Linked DNA regions of Homo sapiens: all the other regions are linked to region 5. The links are contacts of gene promoters, found by promoter capture Hi-C in blood cells and fetal thymus (Javierre and others, 2016). All regions are on one chromosome and are shown on one strand. Each heading gives the region's core, a stretch centred on a gene start or on the middle of the fragment in contact. The rest is flanking DNA. Distances are from core to core; before and after follow the strand shown.

The links. Contacts are between HindIII fragments. The CHiCAGO score rates a contact against its expected background, and 5 or more counts as called.
Region 1: a contact is called between the fragment with the promoter of CYB561A3 here and the fragment with the promoter of TMEM179B in region 5, in 3 of 17 cell types (neutrophils, megakaryocytes and erythroblasts). The highest score is 17.9, in neutrophils.
Region 2: a contact is called between the fragment with the promoter of PLCB3 here and the fragment with the promoter of TMEM179B in region 5, in 5 of 17 cell types (activated CD4 T cells, naive CD4 T cells, M0 macrophages and 2 more). The highest score is 11.4, in activated CD4 T cells.
Region 3: the fragment with the promoter of BAD here is called in contact with the fragment with the promoter of TMEM179B in region 5 in 14 of 17 cell types (total B cells, total CD4 T cells, erythroblasts and 11 more); the score reaches 15.8 in total B cells.
Region 4: the fragment with the promoter of TRPT1 here is called in contact with the fragment with the promoter of TMEM179B in region 5 in 1 of 17 cell types (non-activated CD4 T cells); the score reaches 6.4 in non-activated CD4 T cells.
Region 6: the fragment with the promoter of FERMT3 here is called in contact with the fragment with the promoter of TMEM179B in region 5 in 4 of 17 cell types (fetal thymus, erythroblasts, total CD8 T cells and 1 more); the score reaches 12.2 in fetal thymus.
Region 7: a contact is called between the fragment with the promoter of TRMT112 here and the fragment with the promoter of TMEM179B in region 5, in 2 of 17 cell types (non-activated CD4 T cells and naive CD4 T cells). The highest score is 8.7, in non-activated CD4 T cells.

The regions. Positions count from the first base shown.
Region 1 is chr11:61,360,583-61,363,282 of GRCh38, reverse strand. CYB561A3 (cytochrome b561 family member A3) reads left to right here and starts at 1,401. Exons shown (of 7, transcript NM_153611.6): 1 at 1,401-1,550. TMEM138 (transmembrane protein 138) reads right to left here and starts at 909. Exons shown (of 5, transcript NM_016464.5): 1 at 863-909. RefSeq lists enhancers at 891-1,380, 791-1,512, 1,631-1,850. The HindIII fragment of the contact is 4,335 bases long and covers 1-2,700 here.
Region 2 is chr11:64,250,209-64,252,908 of GRCh38, reverse strand. It overlaps PLCB3 (phospholipase C beta 3), which reads right to left and starts at 1,379. Exons shown (of 31, transcript NM_000932.5): 1 at 1,161-1,379. The coding sequence starts at 1,259. RefSeq lists silencers at 397-610, 1,098-1,567 and enhancers at 1-646, 647-1,292, 2,587-2,700. The HindIII fragment of the contact is 12,307 bases long and covers 1-1,804 here.
Region 3 is chr11:64,283,355-64,286,054 of GRCh38, reverse strand. BAD (BCL2 associated agonist of cell death) reads left to right here and starts at 1,390. Exons shown (of 4, transcript NM_032989.3): 1 at 1,390-1,424; 2 at 1,679-1,873. The coding sequence starts at 1,687. It overlaps GPR137 (G protein-coupled receptor 137), which reads right to left and starts at 207. Exons shown (of 7, transcript NM_001170880.2): 1 at 1-207. RefSeq lists silencers at 131-870, 1,221-1,510. The HindIII fragment of the contact is 5,985 bases long and covers 855-2,700 here.
Region 4 is chr11:64,224,936-64,227,833 of GRCh38, reverse strand. TRPT1 (tRNA phosphotransferase 1) reads left to right here and starts at 1,648. Exons shown (of 8, transcript NM_001033678.4): 1 at 1,648-1,784; 2 at 1,965-2,048; 3 at 2,254-2,335; 4 at 2,864-2,898. The coding sequence starts at 1,974. It overlaps NUDT22 (nudix hydrolase 22), which reads right to left and starts at 1,560. Exons shown (of 6, transcript NM_032344.4): 1 at 1,407-1,560; 2 at 702-1,199; 3 at 168-266. The coding sequence starts at 1,181. RefSeq lists enhancers at 382-899, 900-1,419, 2,020-2,742 and a silencer at 1,445-1,854. The HindIII fragment of the contact is 9,418 bases long and covers 1-2,898 here.
Region 5 is chr11:62,786,124-62,789,000 of GRCh38, reverse strand. It overlaps TMEM179B (transmembrane protein 179B), which reads right to left and starts at 1,599. Exons shown (of 5, transcript NM_199337.3): 1 at 1,474-1,599. The coding sequence starts at 1,569. It overlaps TAF6L (TATA-box binding protein associated factor 6 like), which reads right to left. Exons shown (of 11, transcript NM_006473.4): 10 at 2,613-2,741; 11 at 1,659-2,484. The coding sequence ends at 1,705. It also overlaps a transcript of TMEM223 not described here. RefSeq lists a silencer at 1,969-2,078 and an enhancer at 2,329-2,528. The HindIII fragment of the contact is 7,473 bases long and covers 1-2,877 here.
Region 6 is chr11:64,205,332-64,208,038 of GRCh38, reverse strand. FERMT3 (FERM domain containing kindlin 3) reads right to left here and starts at 1,318. Exons shown (of 15, transcript NM_031471.6): 1 at 1,225-1,318; 2 at 515-688. The coding sequence starts at 674. RefSeq lists enhancers at 670-749, 1,070-1,149, 1,584-2,146, 2,050-2,309, 2,147-2,707. The HindIII fragment of the contact is 2,303 bases long and covers 145-2,447 here.
Region 7 is chr11:64,316,153-64,319,049 of GRCh38, reverse strand. TRMT112 (tRNA methyltransferase activator subunit 11-2) reads left to right here and starts at 1,491. Exons shown (of 4, transcript NM_016404.3): 1 at 1,491-1,601; 2 at 1,685-1,786; 3 at 1,903-1,992; 4 at 2,082-2,590. The coding sequence starts at 1,524. The coding sequence ends at 2,189. ESRRA (estrogen related receptor alpha) reads right to left here. Exons shown (of 7, transcript NM_004451.5): 7 at 2,307-2,897. PRDX5 (peroxiredoxin 5) reads right to left here and starts at 929. Exons shown (of 6, transcript NM_012094.5): 1 at 664-929. The coding sequence starts at 834. RefSeq lists a silencer at 865-1,024 and enhancers at 1,115-1,314, 2,472-2,897. The HindIII fragment of the contact is 12,949 bases long and covers 1-2,897 here.

The sequences.
Region 1 (2,700 bases), core at 152-2,651, 1.4 Mb after region 5:
ATTGGACATATGTTCGCGGTTTCCTCATTCATTAAATTTTAGAGAGAGAGAGAGTGTCTCGCTCTGTCGCCAGGCTGGAGTGCAGTGGCATGATCTTGGCTCACTGCAACCTCCGCCTCTCGGGTTCAAGCGATTCTCCTGCCTCAGCCTCCCAAGTAGCTGGGACTACAGGTGCGTGCCACCACGCCTGGCTAATTTTTTGTATTTTTAGTAGAGACGGGGTTTCACCATGTTAGCCAGGATGGTCTCGATCTCCTGACCTCGTGATCCTCCCGCCTCGGCCTCCCAAAGTGCTGGGATTACAGGCGTGAGCCACTGCGCCCGGCCGCATTAAATAACACTGATAGCTACTACCTAGGTACTCACACCACGATAAACTTGTCAACCAAGATCGTTTCCTTTAATCCTCCCTACAAGTCTGCAAGGTGGGAATTATTCCTATTCTACAGGAAAGGACACAGAAGTCAGAGCTCAAGGCATTCCTCCAGGTCTCAAGTCAGCAGAACCCGGCTTCATAACTGTGACGCCAAACCCGTGCTCTTAACCACTACTCATAGGCCACCATCCAGGGCTGTTTTGAGGATCCGTTATGCAGAAACGCCCATGCCTGTCTCTACGTACGACGATCCCCTCCAGTTTAGGGCAGTGGAGACTCACAAGCTCATGAAGCTCTTTAATTCGTCCACCGCTACCTGCCGCCTTCCCTTTGTACCTAGGGCAGTATTCCTCACGCTTCCCAATCCACTTAAAAACGAGGCTTCCTTGGCAAACAACAACAAAGCATAAAACCCAAGCCCAAAACAACAGCACCAAAAATTCTGACTTCTGGTCACTTAACCCACTCCTCGTCAATCACTCTCACCTCCAAACTCCAACGTCGGTTGTCATGCGGACATCGTCCCGGCTTCCGGAAGCCGGCTTTAAATTCCGGAAGTAAATGGAGGAGGCGGGCCCCGTCTGCGCCGTGCGGCCTGCTAGTCCCCGGCTTTCTCTTCCCGCTCTATGGCCAGTCTGGCCGCCATGTTGGAGCTTTCGCTGTTCGGGGCCCGGCCTGCTCCGGGCCCTCCCAGCGTCGCCGCTAGCTGACTTAGGGCTCCCGCCCACACTGCGCACGGCCTTGCTGAGGGCCGGCTCGTAGTGGGAGGCTTCGCGTTCACCTGAACATTTCCGCCTCCTCTGGATGGGGGATGAGAGGCGGGGCTGATGCATCGCAGCAGTCCTGGACCCTGACTTCGGACTTGGAGAAGAAACGCCGAGGAGGAACGGGAGTTAGGGGGTTAGCAGCTTGGCGCGCTGGGAGCCGGCCACCCCTGGTCTCCGGACTTCACTTCCCAGGAGGCCTCGCGCGCGACTGGAAGTGCTGCGAGCCTATAAGAAGGCGAGGCGGCACCCGCCGCTCTGCTCTGGGGCGGCATTGCCAGCCGGCTGTAGGCATTCAGGGCAGTGTCTTCTGCATCTCCTAGGAACCTCGGGAGCGGCAGCTCCGGCGCCTGGTAGCGAGAGGCGGGTTCCGGAGATCCCGGCCTCACTTCGTCCCACTGTGGTTAGGGGTGAGAAGGATCCCGGGGCTGGGAGTTCAGGGACCTGGGTTCGAATGCTGGTTCCGCTGCTATCTCGCTTCGCACTGTCGCGATCCCCTTGCTCGGCCTCAATTTTCTCTTTTAGAAAGTGGGCACCTTTCTCCGCGCTCTTCCTTCCAACGCGGTGGTTATAAAGGCACGAAAGCTCTTCAGAGGACGCAGAAAGCACCTGGAGCTCCTCACCCCAATTTTCACCCATTGTTAGCTGGCACGAGCACCCAGCAGAGGAGTCAGGGATCACCCCTCGGGTGCCTGGAACGGTTCTTTGGACACCTGAGCCGGACCTAGGCACAGCCTGAAGTCGGGGTCTATAATTATTCCGGTGCTAAGGGGTAACTTGTTCACCTACCTCCTTGGCAGGAATATTGAGCCCTTCACTCCTCATGTTCCGACTTTAACAGAAGCTACCTTTGAGAATAAGGAATCCTCAGAGCTGAGAGGGAGTGGACCCGAATTCCTGTACCAGCTCGGCCACTTACCTTGGCTAAGTCATTTTCTTGTTTTGGGCCCCAGTGTCACAGTGTTTTTGATTTGTAAGATGAGGGTTTAGGGCTTGTATCCTAAATCTGGTCCTCAAGATTCTTGAAGTCCCCCAGTCCATCGGGGAGGGAGAGCAACAAACTGATTTTCTACCCCTTCATTTATTTGTAGTTCTAAATTATAAAAGTAACACTGCAAGAGTTTGGAGTAGAGCCTTTTTCTTTTTCTTTCTTTTTTTTTTTTCTGAGACAGAGTCTCACTCTGTCGCCCAGGCTGGAATGCAGTGGCACGATCTCGGCTCACTGCAACCTCCGCCTCCCGGGTTCAAGCGATTCCCCTGCCTCAGCCTCCCAAGTAGCTGGGATTACAGGCGCCCGCTACCGCGCCCGGCTAATTTTTGTATTTTTAGTAGAGACGGGGTTTCTCCATGTTGGTCAGGCTGGTCTCGAACTCCTGACCTCATGTGATCCGCCCGCCTCGGCTTCCCAAAGTGCTGGGATTACAGGCGTGAGCTACCGCGCCCAGCCTGCGTAGAGCCTTTTTCTAAGACTAAGGGCTGGATGGGAACTAGCATTTCTTACCCCTGGATGTGACCTGTTTTAGCTCAGCCGGGAGAATCCTTTTTCGCAAGAAGTTAATA
Region 2 (2,700 bases), core at 130-2,629, 1.5 Mb before region 5:
GTTTCCCTCCCACCTCTCCCCAGGGGTCTGGACCTCAAAGGCAGCCCAGGTCCCCTGCTCTCCTGCCCCAAGCCTCCGTCAGCACCCCCCACCCCACCCCCAGGGCCCTCTCCCTGTTCCCACTTCCTTATTTGGGTTTATCACAGTGGAATGAAAAGAAGAAACTTTTCCCTTCAGGCCAGCCTGGGGGGAGGGGTCTCCCCCGGCCCCTGGGGCCCCCAGGCACCCCACCTCGCACACCTGCCGCTTCAGGCCACGCCCCCATCTCCTCCCCCCAGCTCCCACGCCTACCCCGGGGCCCCACCCAGCCGGAAAAGAGCCCAGAGTCTTCCAGGCCCGTGGCCTGACTGGGAAGGAGCTGCGAGGAAGCTCAGGCCGGCCGGGTGGAGGCCCTAGGGAAGGAAGGGCCCAGGGGGCAGAAGAGGATGCACCCAGGATGGGGATGGGCAGCCGAAGGTGGGGACACAGGCATTTGGGAAGCACCAGGGGCAGGACAGGGAAAGGGGGGCCAGGATGTATTGGGGTTCAAGGTCCCAAGCCTAAGGAGTGGGGAGCAAAGTTCCCAGGGGTGGAGGAACTTGGGGGGCAAAGTCTCCACTAGGGGGTGACTGGGTGCTCCCATCTGAACAGGGAGCTGGGCTGGGATCCAGAAGCAGGGCGAAGGGGTGCCAACCAGAACAGGGGGAAAAATGATGAATGGACGAGGACTGTTCAGGCAGGGCACCGGGGAGAGTAGGGGCGCCCTGGCACACACCCAGAATGAGGATGCCCCCAGCCAGCCTGGAAGTCAGGGTCCTGCAGCCGGGGAGTCTAGTGCTGGGCAGGGGTCTGGGCACCAGGCCAGGATCGGGGAACGAGAATTAGTCTGGCAGGGAGCGGTGGGAAGAACGAATGGAAAACGGGGGGACGGGGTTTATTGGGGTTCAAAGTCTCTGCGCCAAGGAGTGGAGGCAAATTTTCCAGAGCTGAGGGACTGGGAGTTGGGGGGACAAAGTCTTCATTACGGAGACGATCGGGGACTTAAGTTTCCGGGGCGCCGCCAGACTGGGATGAGGGTGGCGCCACGGGCAGGCGAGGCTGGGGTGGGGGTCCCCAGCGTCTGGTCGAGCTTGACTGAAAGAGTCCCGGGATTTGGGCGGAGCAGGGGCCCGCGCGCTTACCTCGTCCCATTTGATGAACTTACTCCCGCGCCGCAGGGTCTCCACCACGGTGGGCGGCTCCAACTGCAGCGCGTGGACGCCGGGCTGGGCGCCCGCCATGGCCCGGCCAGGGGCGGGTCGGGGACCCACGGAGCCCTGACGGGGACCGACGGCGCCGCTGCTCCCACCGCGCGGCCCGCTCCGGCCCCGCGGCGTCAGTGCCCGCCCGCCCGCCAGTCTGTCCCGGACCGACCAGAGCCTCGGCGGGGCCCGGGCGGGGCGGGGACGGGGCGGGGCCTCCCGGGCCCCGCCCCCTCCCACCGCGTCGGCTCCCCCTGGCGGCCGGGGCGGCGACTGCAGCCGGAGCGGGGATTGGGGCAGGGGCACGCGGACGGGTCGGGGGCTTTGCTGCGGGGCTCAGCAGAACCTGATTCTTCAGGCCTGTGGTGGAAGGAGGGCGCTGGGGGCCGAAGTGGCTGTTGGGGAGCAGCTGGAGGGACTGGGTGTAGAGGGCGCTGCTTAAGGCGGTCCGGGATCAGCCCACTGAGGTTTCCGAGCGACTAGGGCTGCAGTACCAGCGGAGGGCTAGACTTGGGCCGGGGGGTCGCTGCACAGCCCTGTCGCCCACCCTCTTCTGCCGCACTTAGCTGAATGCAGGAAAAGCTTCTTCCGCCCCCCTCTGCCCTGGCTTCGCCTCACCCACTCTTATGCCGCGCGGTCCCCCCTCCCTGGGAGCACTTAGCCGGCTAATGGACCTCCCGCCGGCAGGCACCCCTCCCCCGTCCCTAGCCCAGGGAGGCCGGGCGCCTGCCACCTCCTTTAAGGACCCAAGCATCCTGGTCTTCGAGAGTGAGCCCTAGAACAGCCCCCTTCTTGTTGCTGCAGACTCCCATGACTGGAACCTGACTGTGAGCCTCTTGGCTGGGAACCGCGGGGGGAACGCTGTTGTCTGCCCAGAGGGGTCAGAAGCTTTGTGGATGTCCCCAGACAGGAGGGTTGAGGAGGGGCTCTGCAGTGCCTGGCCCACAGCAGGTGCCCTGAAATCTGCGTTCCAGAGATGGGAGCGGGGAAGGCGCATGGGCAATGGGATGGGTGGGGGCTGCAGCCCCTCCCGCAGGGCTTAGCTGGTGGGGGGGGTTCCTGCCTGGGGGCCCCTGTGGGAGCCCCCCCAATACAGAGGCAGTAACAGCAGCAGGTTTAAAGTAGAACTCATCCAGAGGGGCCAGCCAAGTCACCTAGAAACCCAGAAAGAGATGCAGCTGGCTCTGGGGGAGGAGGGGTCAGCAAAGGAGGAGCTCCCCTGCAGGCCCCTTTGCCCCAGGCTCTGAGACCTCCACAAGGAGCCCTGCCTGGCCCTGGCCTTCCTCCACACCCCGCCAAGTTCTCCATCAACTCTAACCTGGCGGATCTCCTCGCTCTCAGCCCTGGCCCTGTGGGGTGTGATTATGATCTCCACTTGAGGCCCAGAGAGGGGAAGGGACTTGCCCAAGGTCACACAGCTTCTTAGGAGGATTTCAACCCTCCGACTTCCTGAGGCCCAGGAGCCTCTAGACCTCATTGG
Region 3 (2,700 bases), core at 141-2,640, 1.5 Mb before region 5:
CTCCTCCAATAATGCGGATGGGGAGGGCCTCTGCCTCCTGTCCTCGTAATTCTCGAAAGCTGCCCCCGCCCCACCCTCCCCCACCGCGTCCACGCTCCAGCCTCAAGGGGAGGGAGGAGGCGGACGCCAGGTCCTCAGGCCGCTGATGGGAGAGCCGGCTCAGGTCGTGGGGACCCGGGGCTCCGGCTCCCCGGCTCCCGCTGCTCCGCCCCCCTCCCCCTCCGCGCCTGCGCGGGCGCCGTTCGCTACGCAAATTGCGCAGCGGCCCGGCTGGCTCCGCAGTCCAGCGCCGCACCCGGCGTGAAACCGTACGAGAATTGGCGCGAGCTGCGCCGCTGGCGGGCGCCCGGGGTTACGGGAGGCGGCAGGAGGGCGGCCGAGTTGCGGGGGCCGTGCCGCATCCAGGGGGTCCCCGGGTGGGCCGTGCCCCGTGCCGCCCGCCTTTACTTGTATGGGGGTCCGCCAGTTCCCACGCTCCTCTCTCCTATACCCAAATCGGGGTCGTGCCGCCCGGCCGGGGGCGGCAACGGATTCCCGTCCCTCGGTCTCTGAAGAAAACTTCCGCCCATAGCCAAGATGGCCCCCGGGCCCCGCCCCCGGGCCTGAACCCGCGGAGCCCCGAATCCCCCGCGCGGGCCCGCCCCTCGCCCCGGCGCGCCCGCGGCCCTGCTCACCTGGCCGGCCGCCTGCCAGGCGTGAAGCCCCCACGGGCCCTACGGTCCTCCCTCACCGGGTCCCCGGCCCTCCTCCCGCGCCCGGGCAGCCATCCCAGCCAGGGAGGAGGTTCCTTTCCTTATCTCCAGTGCCCCCGAGATGGCGCGGGAGGTGTCCCCCGAGGCGGGCGGCGCGAAGCTTCCGCGCCTGGGAGGAGGAGCGGGGAGCGGGACTTTCCGACCGGGCACCCAGTCCAGGCGGAGCGGTAACAATAGCAACAATAATCACATCCGACGGCTGAGCTTCAGTTGTGGCTGTGCCAAGCGCCTTCGCCCGCAGTAATCACTCCCTTCACAAAGTTTTCACTGGCTCCCGGGGGAGCTGTCACTATCCCCACTTCACTGGGGGGAAACTAAGGCCCAGAGGGGCTGAAGGACTTGTTGGCAGAAGTGGGTCTCCAGGTTCCAAATGGGGACCCCAGAGAATCCCTCTCCTGCTCCCACACACGCCCAAGGTGTGAGGCAGCGAGGATGTGAGCCCCGGGGCCGAAGGAGGGAGGAAAAAGGATGCGGACGAGGAGCCTTGGATCCGGCGGGGGGGCGGGGCCGGGCCGGGTTGACCCCGCCTCTGGACCTACCCGAGTGACGTTCCGAGAGGTGATTGGGCCAGGTCGCTGACAGTTCCCGTTGCCCAAGCAACTAGGGCCCGGAGCCCGGGGTGCTGGAGGGAGGCGGCAGGCCCGGGTCAGGGGCCTCGAGATCGGGCTTGGGGTGAGACCTGTGCGCCGTCACCACGGGCGGGGCGGGGCCTGGGTCCACCGGGGTTCTGAGGGGAGACTGAGGTCCTGAGCCGACAGCCTCAGCTCCCTGCCAGGCCAGACCCGGCAGACAGATGAGGGCCCAGGAGGCCTGGCGGGCCTGGGGGCGCTACGGTGGGAGAGGAAGCCAGGGGTACCTGCCTCTGCCTTCCAGGGCCACCGTTGGCCCCAGCTGTGCCTTGACTACGTAACATCTTGTCCTCACAGCCCAGAGCATGTTCCAGATCCCAGAGTTTGAGCCGAGTGAGCAGGAAGACTCCAGCTCTGCAGAGAGGGGCCTGGGCCCCAGCCCCGCAGGGGACGGGCCCTCAGGCTCCGGCAAGCATCATCGCCAGGCCCCAGGCCTCCTGTGGGACGCCAGTCACCAGCAGGAGCAGCCAACCAGCAGCAGCCATCATGGAGGTAAGTACCCCACCACCTCCACCTGCCGGGACACCTCACCCCCAGCCCACTGGCTCCCTGCATCCCAGTTGCATCCACAGGCACTGAATGCTTTGGGTCGGTCCCCAAACTCTCAGAGCCCCAGTTTCCTCTTTCGTAAAACAGCAATTAATAACCACCATTGTAGGACTGTTGAGTTAATTAGCAGGAACATATAGGATGCACTTGATTACAGAGCTGGTGCACATTAAAGCTAAAAAATGGTTGCTGCCGGGCGTGGTGGCTCACACCTGTAATCTCAGCACTTTGGGAGGCCAAGGCAGGAGGATCGCTTGAGCCCAGAAGTTCAAGGCCAGCCTGAGTGACTTAGGGAGACTCCAGCTCTTAAAATACATATATATATATATAGCAGCTATTAGTGTGGGGTTAGGACAGAAATCAGTGACAGGCAGGCAGTGATCCGAAAAGGAAAAGGGGCCTGCCTAAGGCCACACCTTCCTGGTGTTTCTTTCCTTAGAATGTGGGGGCTGGAAGCCTCCTTGGTGCCCTGCCCCAGGCTACATGCTTTCCCTGGGATTAGGCCTTCCAGCTCCCAGATGTGTTCTTTCTTGCCCTGTGGCTCGTACCCACAGCAGGACTGTCCTGGCACAGTGGCCAGGGGCAGATGACCTCAAGGGGCAGACAGTCCTCCCAGACAGCAGGGCTGTGTGGGGTGAGAAGCACAGGCTCCAAGATGGAAGGATGGACACTGGGGTTCTATGTCCATTTCTCAGTAGGCTCTAGCACCCCTGTGCCCAGCACTGGCCTTGGCACCTGGAACAACAACAGATATCTTCTGAACACAAAAA
Region 4 (2,898 bases), core at 399-2,898, 1.4 Mb before region 5:
TGAGGGCTAGAATTCCACTCCAAGTATGTATAGCTGCAAAGCCAACTTCTTCCCTCATTGCTGGCCAGATGCCTGCAGGCCTCCTGCCAGCCCAGACCTGTAGAATTCTGGCAAGTCCTACCCCCTCCCTTCATGTCTACCACCCTGTCCAGGTCAACCTCACTCACCTCATCACAGATCTCCTGAAGGACACTGGAAAAGAGTTCATGTACCACCAGCTGCCCAGCGAGGTCCTGGTGCTGGGGGCTGCCACCAGGGCACAGGGCCTGTGAGAGGTCAGGCTCAGCCCCTGCTCCCCACCTCTTCCCCCTGCCCCATCTCAGGACCAGCAAGCCTATACCTGCTGGCCTTGAGGGTCTGATGTGGCACAGTGTAAGAGAGTTAGTGATCCTGAGTCTGGTGTCCTTTCCCTGACAGACAACCAGAGGTCCAGCTTCAAAGGAGATACACAGGGGGCAGGGGTGGAGTAGGGCATCTTCTTCCTGTGCCCAATCTTTCCTCCCGTGTTTTCTAGTTTCTCACAGGACTGGGGCAGGGGTCAGTGGGGAGGCAGGTGGACTGCCCTGAGCAAACTTCCAGAGAAATACCAGGCCAATTTTCCCTTTAAGGAATGAGGAAACCAAAGCTGGGAGGATTGGGAGGGTGGAGAGCTGCAGCTCCCTTGAGCTGTCTGGGTCTTTGTGCCCAGCCTGGAATCTCACCTGAGGCTCAGGGTGCCCACCAGGTACGTCCACCAGCCCAGGGGCCTCAGCCACCTGCCGGGAGCGGCGCAGGAAGACAAGGAAGTCATCGGCTGTGGCTAGTGCAGCGCCCACCCCCAGTGGGTCCGCCAGATAGGCCTGCGTGTCACCCCAGTCGGTGGCACCCTGCTGTCGCAGCCAGGCAGCTGAGCTGGACCAGTTGGTGCCCAGGAAGTCTCGGTAGGAAGTAAGGCCCAGGCGCAGGAGCAGCTGTGGCCCCCGAGAGCCAATAGGCGCCAGGGTGGCTGAGTGCAGGCGGAACTTGGGGGCGTCGAAGAGCCAGGGTTGGGCCTTTAGCCGGGTCTCCCAGATGGCAGTGATGGCCTCGTCCCCACCTGGCAGTGGGCGACGGTCATGGGCGGGGCTCAGCTCGGCCTGTATCTGCTCCTGGGGCAGGCCCCCGCCAGGGCACTGCAGCAGCAAGGTCACCTCAGGATCCATGGTCTGAACGGGGCAGCTCTGGGGGAGGATACGGCCAGGCCTGTCATCCAGGGGGGCCACTACCACTCCTGGGCTGCGCAGCTAGCCCCCTCTGTCGCAGACCTCCTGAGGGTATCCGCAGCGCTTCTCCACCCCCCTGACCACTCCTTGGGCAGTAAAACGTGCCATCTTCCCCGCAGGAGCCCCGAGTCCCGCAGGGTATCCAGGACGCCCGGGCATCCCTACCATCCAGAGGTCTTGGGTTCAGGCGCCCCAAATGCCCATGTCCCCCAAACCCAGGGGTCTGCCTCCGACCCGGGGCGCGCGGGGACCCCTTTCCAGGGCCCGGAAGCTCCAGCCTCCAGCGGGCGCTCACCAGCCGCCGGGTCCCTCAGGCTCCGCCCCTTCCCCGAAGCGGAAGTGCCCGCCCCCTTTCCACGCGGCTTTTCATTGGCGGGTCCGCCGCGGTCGAGGATCCTGGAGGTTTGTCCCCGCCGCCCCGACGCTTCCGCCCGGTCCGTCGGCACGTCGGCCCTGCCTCCCGGACCACCCTGCGGGGCGCACCAGCGATCTGGGGTGCGGGGCTCGGCCTCCCTGCGCTCCTGGCTGACCGTGTGACCTTGGGCAAGTCTGGCCTGCTGGGCCTTAGTTTCCCTCTCTGCAGCAGGGACTTGGGGGTGGTGAACTTAATGAGCCGTATACTCCCACCCAGCGCTCACTTCCTGAGGCTTTGTGACTTTCTGGGAGGGATGGGGACGTGGAAGGGGCCTTAAAGCAGTCCCCCCTCGTCACTGCCCCCCACAGGTCTTAACCATGAACTTCTCTGGAGGAGGGAGGCAGGAAGCAGCAGGGTCCAGGGGTAGAAGGGCTCCCAGACCCCGAGAACAGGTGCGCGCCTCCTCCCCACCCCCTCCCACCAGTCCAGGCTCCCTGGGAGTTGCTGGGGGGCGGAGCTGAAGGGTCCTACTATTCCTGGAGACCACTGGCACTCCTTTCTCTCTGGGCTCTCTCTGCAGTGGGTCATTGAGGGTTCAGGATGGGCAGTAGGGCAGGGTCACCATGGAGACTAGGGGCCACCGCTGGGTTCTTTCAGGACCGAGACGTGCAGCTGTCCAAGGCTCTGTCCTATGCCCTGCGCCATGGGGCCTTGAAGCTGGGGCTTCCCATGGGAGCTGGTAAGTAGGGGCCTTGGAGGCTGGGGCTTGAGCCCAGAGAGAAACGTGAGCCTGTCTGCGACTCCTCCCTGATGGCTGCCTCCACCGCTCCCTGAGGAAGGCACAGAGTGCACTTCCTCCCCATGCACAGAGGAGAGCAAGGCCTAGAGCCCCTGTCATGTCCACAGCAGACTGAGGAGAGTTCTTGTCTGGGCCAGGCCTGGTGACCGCCCCCTCCAGCCAAGCAGCCAGATCAGCACTTACCCCGAGGGCGAGCCCTGGAGGATACGGTGCAGCTGGTGGTGTGAGTGTGCACTCCGGGCCAGCGCTATGCTGGGCACTCACCTCCCTGCCCCTCCGTGAGGCAGATCCTCTTTTTATGTAAGTTGAAAAAACTGCGGCCCAGAAAGGGGAGACTTTCTAAAGGTCCCACAGAGGATGCCCAAGCGATCTCCAAGCCCAGACTTTGTTTCGGTTGCCTGTGGCTCCCTGTTAACCCTGGCCCAGTCCAGAGCAAGGTTAGCTCCTGAGCACCCTGCCTGCCCACAGATGGCTTCGTGCCCCTGGGCACCCTCCTGCAGTTG
Region 5 (2,877 bases), core at 350-2,849:
CCTAGATTTCAGGTTAATGTCTCTAGATACAGTCTCTTGGTAGGGTGTTAGTGATAACTTAGGAATGGTCCTGCATTCCAGGAAGTTATTTGTGCACCGTCAATTCCTATTTCTGGGACAGGGATATTGATGGAGAGGGCCTGCTGGGGAATCACACCGGCAGTGGCCAGAAGGATCAGAAAATAGGCAATGAATATAGAATGCAATGAGCTTCAGAGAAGCCTCACAAGTTATGGTCTCTGTGCAGAAACCTTAGAGTAAACCCAGGCCTTGTATATCCTTCAACAAATAACTATCTGTGAGGTGCTTTTTTTTTTTTTTTTTGCTGGAGTGCAGTGGCGCCATCTCGGCTCACTGCACGCTCTGCCTTCTGGGTTCATGCCATTCTCCTGCCTCAGCCTCCTGAGTAGCTGGGACTACAGGCACCCGCCACCATGCCTGGCTAATTGTTTGTATTTTTAGTAGAGACAGGGTTTCACCGTGTTGGCCAGGATGGTCTTGATCTCCTGACCTCGTGATCCGCCTGCCACGGCCTCCCAAAGTGCTGGGATTACAGGCGTGAGCCACCAGGCCCGGCCAGTGTTTTTGTTTTTGTTTTTGCGATGGAGATTCGCTCGTCACCCAGGCTGGAGTGCAATGGCACGATCTCGACTCACTGCAACCTCCGCCTCCCAGGTTCAAGCGATTCTCCTGCCTCAGCCTCCGAAGTAGCTGGGATTACAGGCATGAGCCACCACACCCGGCTAATTTTTGTATTTTTAGTAGAGACAGAGTTTTGCCATGTTGGCCAGGCTGGTCTCGAACTCCTGACCTCAAGTGATCCGCCTGCCTCAGCCTCCCAAAGTGCTGGGATTACAGGCGTGAGTCACCGCGCCCGGCGGATCTCTGAGGTTTTCTCATGGTGTAAAATAGGCACACTAGTGCCTACTTTATAGGCATTAAATGAACCCATGTTTATTAACCAGATTACCTGGCTGGGGTAAACGATGTAAATTATTGGCTTCTACCTTTACGTCAGCGTTTTCTCCATCTCTCATTTTGTCATTTAACACACTGTGCTACAATCATGTGGCAGCTTGATCATCTCCACTACACTATGCTTTATTTCTCGACAAAGCTCAGCACAAATGGCTTCTGATTTAACGGATGGACGCAGGTTCTGCACTGACTTCTGTTTCGGAACCACAGTAAGGCTGTGCAGCAGGAGCCACGAAACCCGACTCCACCTAGTGCTTTAAGACGCTACTGACCCGTCCCTTTGGCGAGGGGACAACTTCGAAGTATGACCTGGCCAGGAGGAGCCACAAAGCGCGATTAGCCTCGCTGCATTTCAGGTACAGGCCGGCGCCAGCCGTGCCTCACCAGGTCCACCGGCTCCGAGCAGCAGCAAGCCCGGTCGGAAAGCGAAAGTGGCCTCGCCATGTCCAGACCGGCCAGCTCCCCCGCCTACCTGACCCCGCCCCGCAGCCGCACCTGGGTCCGAGTCATCGCCGCGGCCGCCACGGCCCCGCACAGGAAGGCGGCAGCAAAGAGCGCAAGCTCGACGCGCTGCAGCCAGGACAGCGCCATGGCGCCCTGACCACCAGGAAGCGCCGCTGCAGCAGCACCCCGCCCAAAGCCCACCTTATCCGGCGCGACCCACGAAGGTGGAGACGTCATTTCCGGGGGCGGGATTTATTTACAAGGAACGAAGGGGCCACTGACTCAGAGCGGCAAGTACAGCGAGTAGTCCGAGAGCGCCCACCGGCGGGCGGGGCGGCTGGTACGGCCGATCATGGGCAGTTTCTGCACGTAGCGCGAGGCCGGGCTAGGCCCGTACGGCGCGGGGAAGGCAGTCTGGAAAAGGCGCCCGCGGCAGCGCCTCCCAGCCTGCCGCCCGGCTATGATGAAACGAAAGTGCGGGGCGCCGCGCGGGGCGAAACGGCTCTTCTGGAAAACGTCGCGGGTGCCGGTCCCGGGGCCCTGCTGCCGGGGTGCCCCGCGCGCCCGATGCACGCGCGGCAAGGGCCTGCTCTCAGAGGCGGCGGGCCCAGAGGCCGACGCGGGGCCGCCTCCGCCGCTGCCCCGGGGGCTCTCGTCGCCGTGCGGGCTGACTATGGCGCTTGCCGTCAGCTGCGGCATCTTCCGCACCGAGTCCGGGGCTGCCGCCGGCTCCTTCTTGTCCCCGGGCGGCCGCGGAGCCGTGGGTGCAGGCTGGCCGGTGCCAAAGCGTGTGGCCAAGCTGTCACCGAAGAAGGCGTAGAGCTCCCGGTAGATGTCGGCCAGGGTCACCGAAAGAGAAGGGTCCTCCGGCCCCGCGCCCCCTGGCGGCAGCGGGAGGCCGGACCCAAAGCTGGGTTCTGCACCGCCCCCGGAGGACGACTCTTGAAAGAGAAGGCTGTCCCATGGCAGGTCGTCCAGGCGCCGGCACCCCCTGCCACCTGGGCCACCCCTGTTGGGCTCTGCTGCCTGGGCCTTCATCTTCAGCAGTCGCTCTACCGCCACCTGTAAGAGCCAAGGACTAAGATAGGCAAAAAATTCGAGGAACCTGGGCCCATCAAATATTCCAAAGTAAGCCTGCTTGGCTGCTAAGCTCATGCAGGGAAGGGAGGCTGGAAGGGGACGGTACTCACCAGAATGGCTCCATAGACTTTGTGTCCATCTGCTTTGACCTGGGCATTAGATACTGAATAATCATCCAGCACAGCCTGCAAGTTTGTCCAGTAGGTGGACAGGTGTGGGTACAGGACTCGTTCTACTGCCTGGAAGGAAGAGAAGGAATACAGTTAGCATGTCTTTGATACTTATTCCCTCTCAAGGACCCTTTCCCATGAAAGACCTACCTTTATCTCTGATCCTAGACAGGGCTCAATCCTCCTAAATTCCCTGATTGGCATA
Region 6 (2,707 bases), core at 69-2,568, 1.4 Mb before region 5:
CCGGCAGGGAAGGAAGATGAGGAGCCCCCGTGTCACTAGCCCCGTGGTCCTCCATGACTGATACCACAGCTGCTCTGCTGTAACTTCCTGTGGGGGCAGGGCCTTCCCACCCAGGCTGGGCCTGTCACCAACCTGCTCAAAGCTTCCGCCAAGGGGAGGGAGCGTGGGGGCAGGCCCCTGGGTCACCTAGACCCCCTCAGACCTCAGCAATGTGACTTCAGCCTCGGCCCAGACAAGACCACTCCTTCTGCCCCTATTGGTGGCTGAATGGAGGATTGTGGCTGCGTCTGATCCTTAGCAGACCAGCTGCAGCAGAAGGGAGGGAGGGAAGAGGGTGGGAGGGAGAGGAAGTTGGGGAAATGTCTTTTTTGGAACCAAATGATTAAGCTAATGCCTGAGTCACCGTGACACCATTATCGGGAGCTGAGCAGCAGGGATGGCCCGGAAGTGCCCAGAGACACCCGTGGCGGCCGCCCATGGTGCCGAGTTCAGCAAGCGGGCAGCGGACACTCACTGATCTGCTCCACAATCTTCAGGAGCACCCCGCCGATGTGCGACTCCCCAGTGACCCGCAGGGTGACCGACTCGGCCTCTGGGTCCTCCTCTCCCACAAACACCCGCAGCTCCCATGACGAGTCGATGTAGTCCCCGGAGGCTGTCTTCATCCCCGCCATGGCTGCGGCTGCTGCTACAGAGAGTGTGGAAGGAGGCAAGGTGGGCAGGCCCTGGTAGGCCTCCGGGTTTGGGCAGAAGAGCTCTGTGATGCCCTGGACACACCCAGAGGAAAGCCGCTCATGAAGGAGGGCGGGAGTGAGCACCCAGGCCAGCACGCCCGTGGTACCCTCAGACTCTCTCTCCAGCGCTGGCGCTTGAGCCGCGAGGGCCCTCAGAGACCATGTAGTCCAATCCGCTCCCATCCTACAGGCGGGCAGACTGAGGCCGGGTAAGAAGGGGCTCACTCAGGACCACCGTGCTCAATGCCAGCCCACAGCTCACTCCCAGACCCTCAGGGGCAGCTGCCCACTCTGGCCATGGCTTCGTACCCAGGCCAGGAAGTAGTTCCGATCCTGGCCCACAGCTCAGATGCCAACATCACAAACCAGCCAAAGCCTCTCCGGGGAGGTGGAAAGTTCAGGCTGCCGCATGGCGAGAGGCAGGCTGGGCAGAGGCTGCAGGAGGATAAGGAAGAGAAGGGCCCAGGGTCCCAGTGAGGCCTGAGCTTACCTTTCCTGGCAAGGGCTGGGGGCTGCAGGTGGGTCTCGGGCTACACCCCTGTGGGCCGTGGGCTTCCTGCCCTCCTTTCTCTTTGGAGCTTCCTTCAGGGCAGCCCTTGCTTGTGCCTTATCACGAGCAGGGCGGGTTCAGCCCCTCCCCAGGGCGGGCTGGCGCTGGGTGCAGGAAGCACACTGCCAGCCCACAGAGGGTTCCAGGGGCCCCCCCACCTTTGTCCCCAGAGAGCACAGGAAGCTAGGGAGAGCGGGGCTTAGCGACTCAACACCATAAAAACGCCCCCTTCCTCATTTGGAGGGAAGCTCAGTGCAAACTCAACAAGTCCCCCGGCTGTGTGTGTTCAGGGCTAGGTCCACTTTTGTGGGAAGTGTCTGCCATCCTCAGCCTGTCACATGAGGTGGGGACCTTGGGCTTTGAAACATCACTGGGCTGCCGGAGGGAGAGCCCAGGAGTCGACAGAGTGTATCCAGGTTATTTGGGACTCACAGGTTAAATCGGCTCCAGCCTGGCTATCCCTATCAACCAAGGATCCCTCAAGGCCCCAGAGGGAAACAAGTCCATTTTGCAGTTTTTCCTAGCTCCGCGTAGGGCTACCTTCAAACTCATGAACTCAGACCTGCCAGGTGAACAAGTGAACAGTACTTGGCCCAGACCATCCACAACCTCCCGGGCCCTCAGGTCACCCAGCTCCAAACACGACCCCTCCACTGTGCTCCACTTGGATGAGCCTCCCCGAGTCCCCACGAGGCTCACTCCCATCAAGTCCCTGCTTAGGTGACACCTCAGGGGTCTCTGGTGGTCTATACCCTCCTGCTCATCACCTGCCCTAGGATGTGGACTTCAGTAGAGCAAGGCACGTCCGCCACCAGCTCTGCGCAGGACAGCGGCCTTTCCAGTGAACACACTGGGGTTGGAGCATGCAGGGTGGGCAAGCCTGGGGGCGGCAGAGTCCTGCCAATGGGGGAGGCTACCTGAGCATCGCCACTCAGATGGGGAAGGGGGCGGCCTGCCGGGGATTCCCAGGGGAAAAGAAAGCTGATGAAACTAACAGCAGGAAGTCCAGCCAGCTGCTAGTCTCAGCGCCTTCCTAGCCCAGAAAGCAGCACTCTTGGAGCAAATGAGGAAGTTTTACTCCTGCCCCAAAGGCCTCCCCAGTCCAGGAAGAGAGCTTTAGAAAACGCAGCTTGTTGCAACCATGGAAAAGTGTAATTAAAGCTTAGCACCCTAAGTTCTCAGGTAAGAGCCGTGCATTAAAACCATCACCCAGGCCGGGCGCGGTGGCTCACGCCTGTTAACCCCAGCACTTTGGGAAGTCCAGGCGGGTGGATCACGAGGTCAGGAGATTGAGACCATCCTGGCTAACACGGTGAAACCCCGTCTCTACTAAAAATACAAACAAACAAACAAACAAAAAATTAGCCGGGCGTGGTGGCGGGCGCCTGTAGTCCCAGCTACTCGGGAGACTGAGGCAGGAGAA
Region 7 (2,897 bases), core at 242-2,741, 1.5 Mb before region 5:
CCCTGGGGACGGTTCCAGGAAGTGAGTGAAAGACAGAAAGGTGGGAATTCGCCATGGGGGGAGGGGAGGTCATGGAGTGGGATGGGGTAAGCCCCCGCGGGGGCGCTAAGGGACAGCTGTTTCAGAAGATAGGGGAAATCAGGCCGGGAGTGGTGTCTCACACCTGTAATCCTAGCACTTCGGGAAGCCGAGGCGGGGGGGGGCGGGGGGGGTTCACCTGAGGTCAGGAGTTCGAGACCAATCTGAACAACGGGGTGAAATCCCGTCTCTACTAAAAATACAATAGCTGGGCGTGGTGGCTCGCATCTGTAGTCCCAGCTACTCAGGAGGCTGAGGCAGTAGAATCGCTTGAACCCGGGAGGCGGAGGCTGCAGTGAGCAGAGATTGCGTCACTGCACTCCAGCCTGGGCGACACAGAAAGACTCCGTCTCAAAAAAAAACAAAAAACAAAAAACACAATGCCTCGGGACTGTCCCGGGAGGTGAGGCCCCCACGATTGGCGAGAAAGGTGGGCAGCCACGAGGGCCTTCTGAAGGGATGAGCCGGGCGGGCGGAGGGGAGGGGTCTGGCAGGCAGGAAATAAAGCGATACTCTCAGACTAGCGGGACGGGGATTGCCATGGGGGTAGTGGGGGATGTCAGGCCCGGCCGGGCCAGCGGTCACCTTGATTGGGGCCATGGCTGCAGCGGCTCTGCTGAAACTGCGGACCCCGCCAGACGCCCACTCTCCTTCACTGTACCGTCTTGCTGCCGCTGCCGCAGACTGACCGCCGGCCCCACCGACGAGTATATAGCCCGCTGAGCGTCTCAGGGCGCACACGCCAGCTAGTCCCATACCCGCCCCACGGCCACTTCCACTCCGCCTCCTGGCTGGTGCCACCGCAGCAGGCGGGGCACCGCTAGCGGCACAGCGGCGACACCCTGCGGAAGGCGGGCCTGGGCCGCCTCCACTGCGCAGGCGCGAGCGGCCACCCGCAGAACAGAGCTTCCGGGACCCACGCCTCGTTTGCACTGGGTGCTGGACAGCCGACGCAACTACAAATGGGGCGGAGCTTTCGGCACTGGAGCAGCTAATTTGCATATAGGAATGAGGTGCGGCTCGGCTTCCATGGGCCTAATTTACAGATAGGGCGGTATTTCTGCCCCTTAACCGAAAGTGGGATACAGAGGACGACGGTGTTAGGCGCCTGTGTAGGAGTAAAATGTGTTTATTTTGCATTCAACGAGAGCTCCTGCATTGCAGCTATTTTGCATATGATTTGCATCTTACGAAGAATTTGTGGCAAAAAAAAGCTGGGCGTGCGCCGTAGGAACCTCCTGCTGAGACGCTTCCGGTAGCGGCGCGTGACCCGACAGGTCTTTCACCTACCTACCTCAGCTCCCACAAACACGAGAAGTTCCAGCAAGTTCGCCACTTCCGGTTCTCCTGGCTATCCAATAGCATCGAGAGGAGCATCCCCGGAAGTGAGGCAGCGGAGGACGACCTTTTTCCGGTTCCGGCCTGGCGAGAGTTTGTGCGGCGACATGAAACTGCTTACCCACAATCTGCTGAGCTCGCATGTGCGGGGGGTGGGGTCCCGTGGCTTCCCCCTGCGCCTCCAGGTACCCGCCGGCGGCAGTCTTCCCTTTTCGGGCGGGATGGTGGGCCGGGGTCCAGTGCTTGCCTAAACTCCTCCGCCCTGCAGGCCACCGAGGTCCGTATCTGCCCTGTGGAATTCAACCCCAACTTCGTGGCGCGTATGATACCTAAAGTGGAGTGGTCGGCGTTCCTGGAGGCGGCCGATAACGTGAGGATCCTTACCCCGCCCCAGCATATCCCGGGGAATGCGGGGCGGGCACACCTCAGCCGGGCTGAGGCGGGAGTTCGGGATGCCCGGAGATAATTTTGGCCTCTTGCCCACAGTTGCGTCTGATCCAGGTGCCGAAAGGGCCGGTTGAGGGATATGAGGAGAATGAGGAGTTTCTGAGGACCATGCACCACCTGCTGCTGGAGGTGAGAAGCGGCCCATCACTTGCTTCCCGGGCCACCTGCCTCCCGCACTGAGGCTGCCAGTGCTCAGCTCTGTCCCTCCCTGCCCGCAGGTGGAAGTGATAGAGGGCACCCTGCAGTGCCCGGAATCTGGACGTATGTTCCCCATCAGCCGCGGGATCCCCAACATGCTGCTGAGTGAAGAGGAAACTGAGAGTTGATTGTGCCAGGCGCCAGTTTTTCTTGTTATGACTGTGTATTTTTGTTGATCTATACCCTGTTTCCGAATTCTGCCGTGTGTATCCCCAACCCTTGACCCAATGACACCAAACACAGTGTTTTTGAGCTCGGTATTATATATTTTTTTCTCATTAAAGGTTTAAAACCAAAAGCGGTTTCTCTTTGCAGCAAATATACATTAAAATAGAGTCTCTGTACAGCCAAGGGCTCTGGGCCCTGGCTTGCCCCATGTCCCTGCGCCTCCCTGGCCAAACCCAAAAATAAATATAGTGTTATTGCTCTGCAGGGCATAGAGGCAGTGCTCTCCTACCCCCTGAGGAGGCTCGTTGGGAGCTGATGGGGAAGCCCTGGCCACCCCAGGGGTCCAGGGGCTGGAGTCTGCTTGGAGTTATTGCTTCAAGGGGGGACACTAATGCCCAATGCAAATGATGAGAGGAGGAGCGAAGGGGGCATGGGCCTTTGCTCTCCAAGTCCCACTCTGCTTTGAAGAGGGGGTAGGATTAAGCAGCAGCAAAAGCATCACCCACTGGGAGACTCTGGCCTCCATCCCCTTCCCTCCCTGAGATAGGTTTCTGCCTCCCACGCATCCCGTGCAGCCCCCTATGGCTTCCGCAAGGCCCCCTACACTCTGGGGGCACGTTATGGCTTGCAAGGGGCAGCACTGTGCCCAGAGCCTGGACACACGTTCC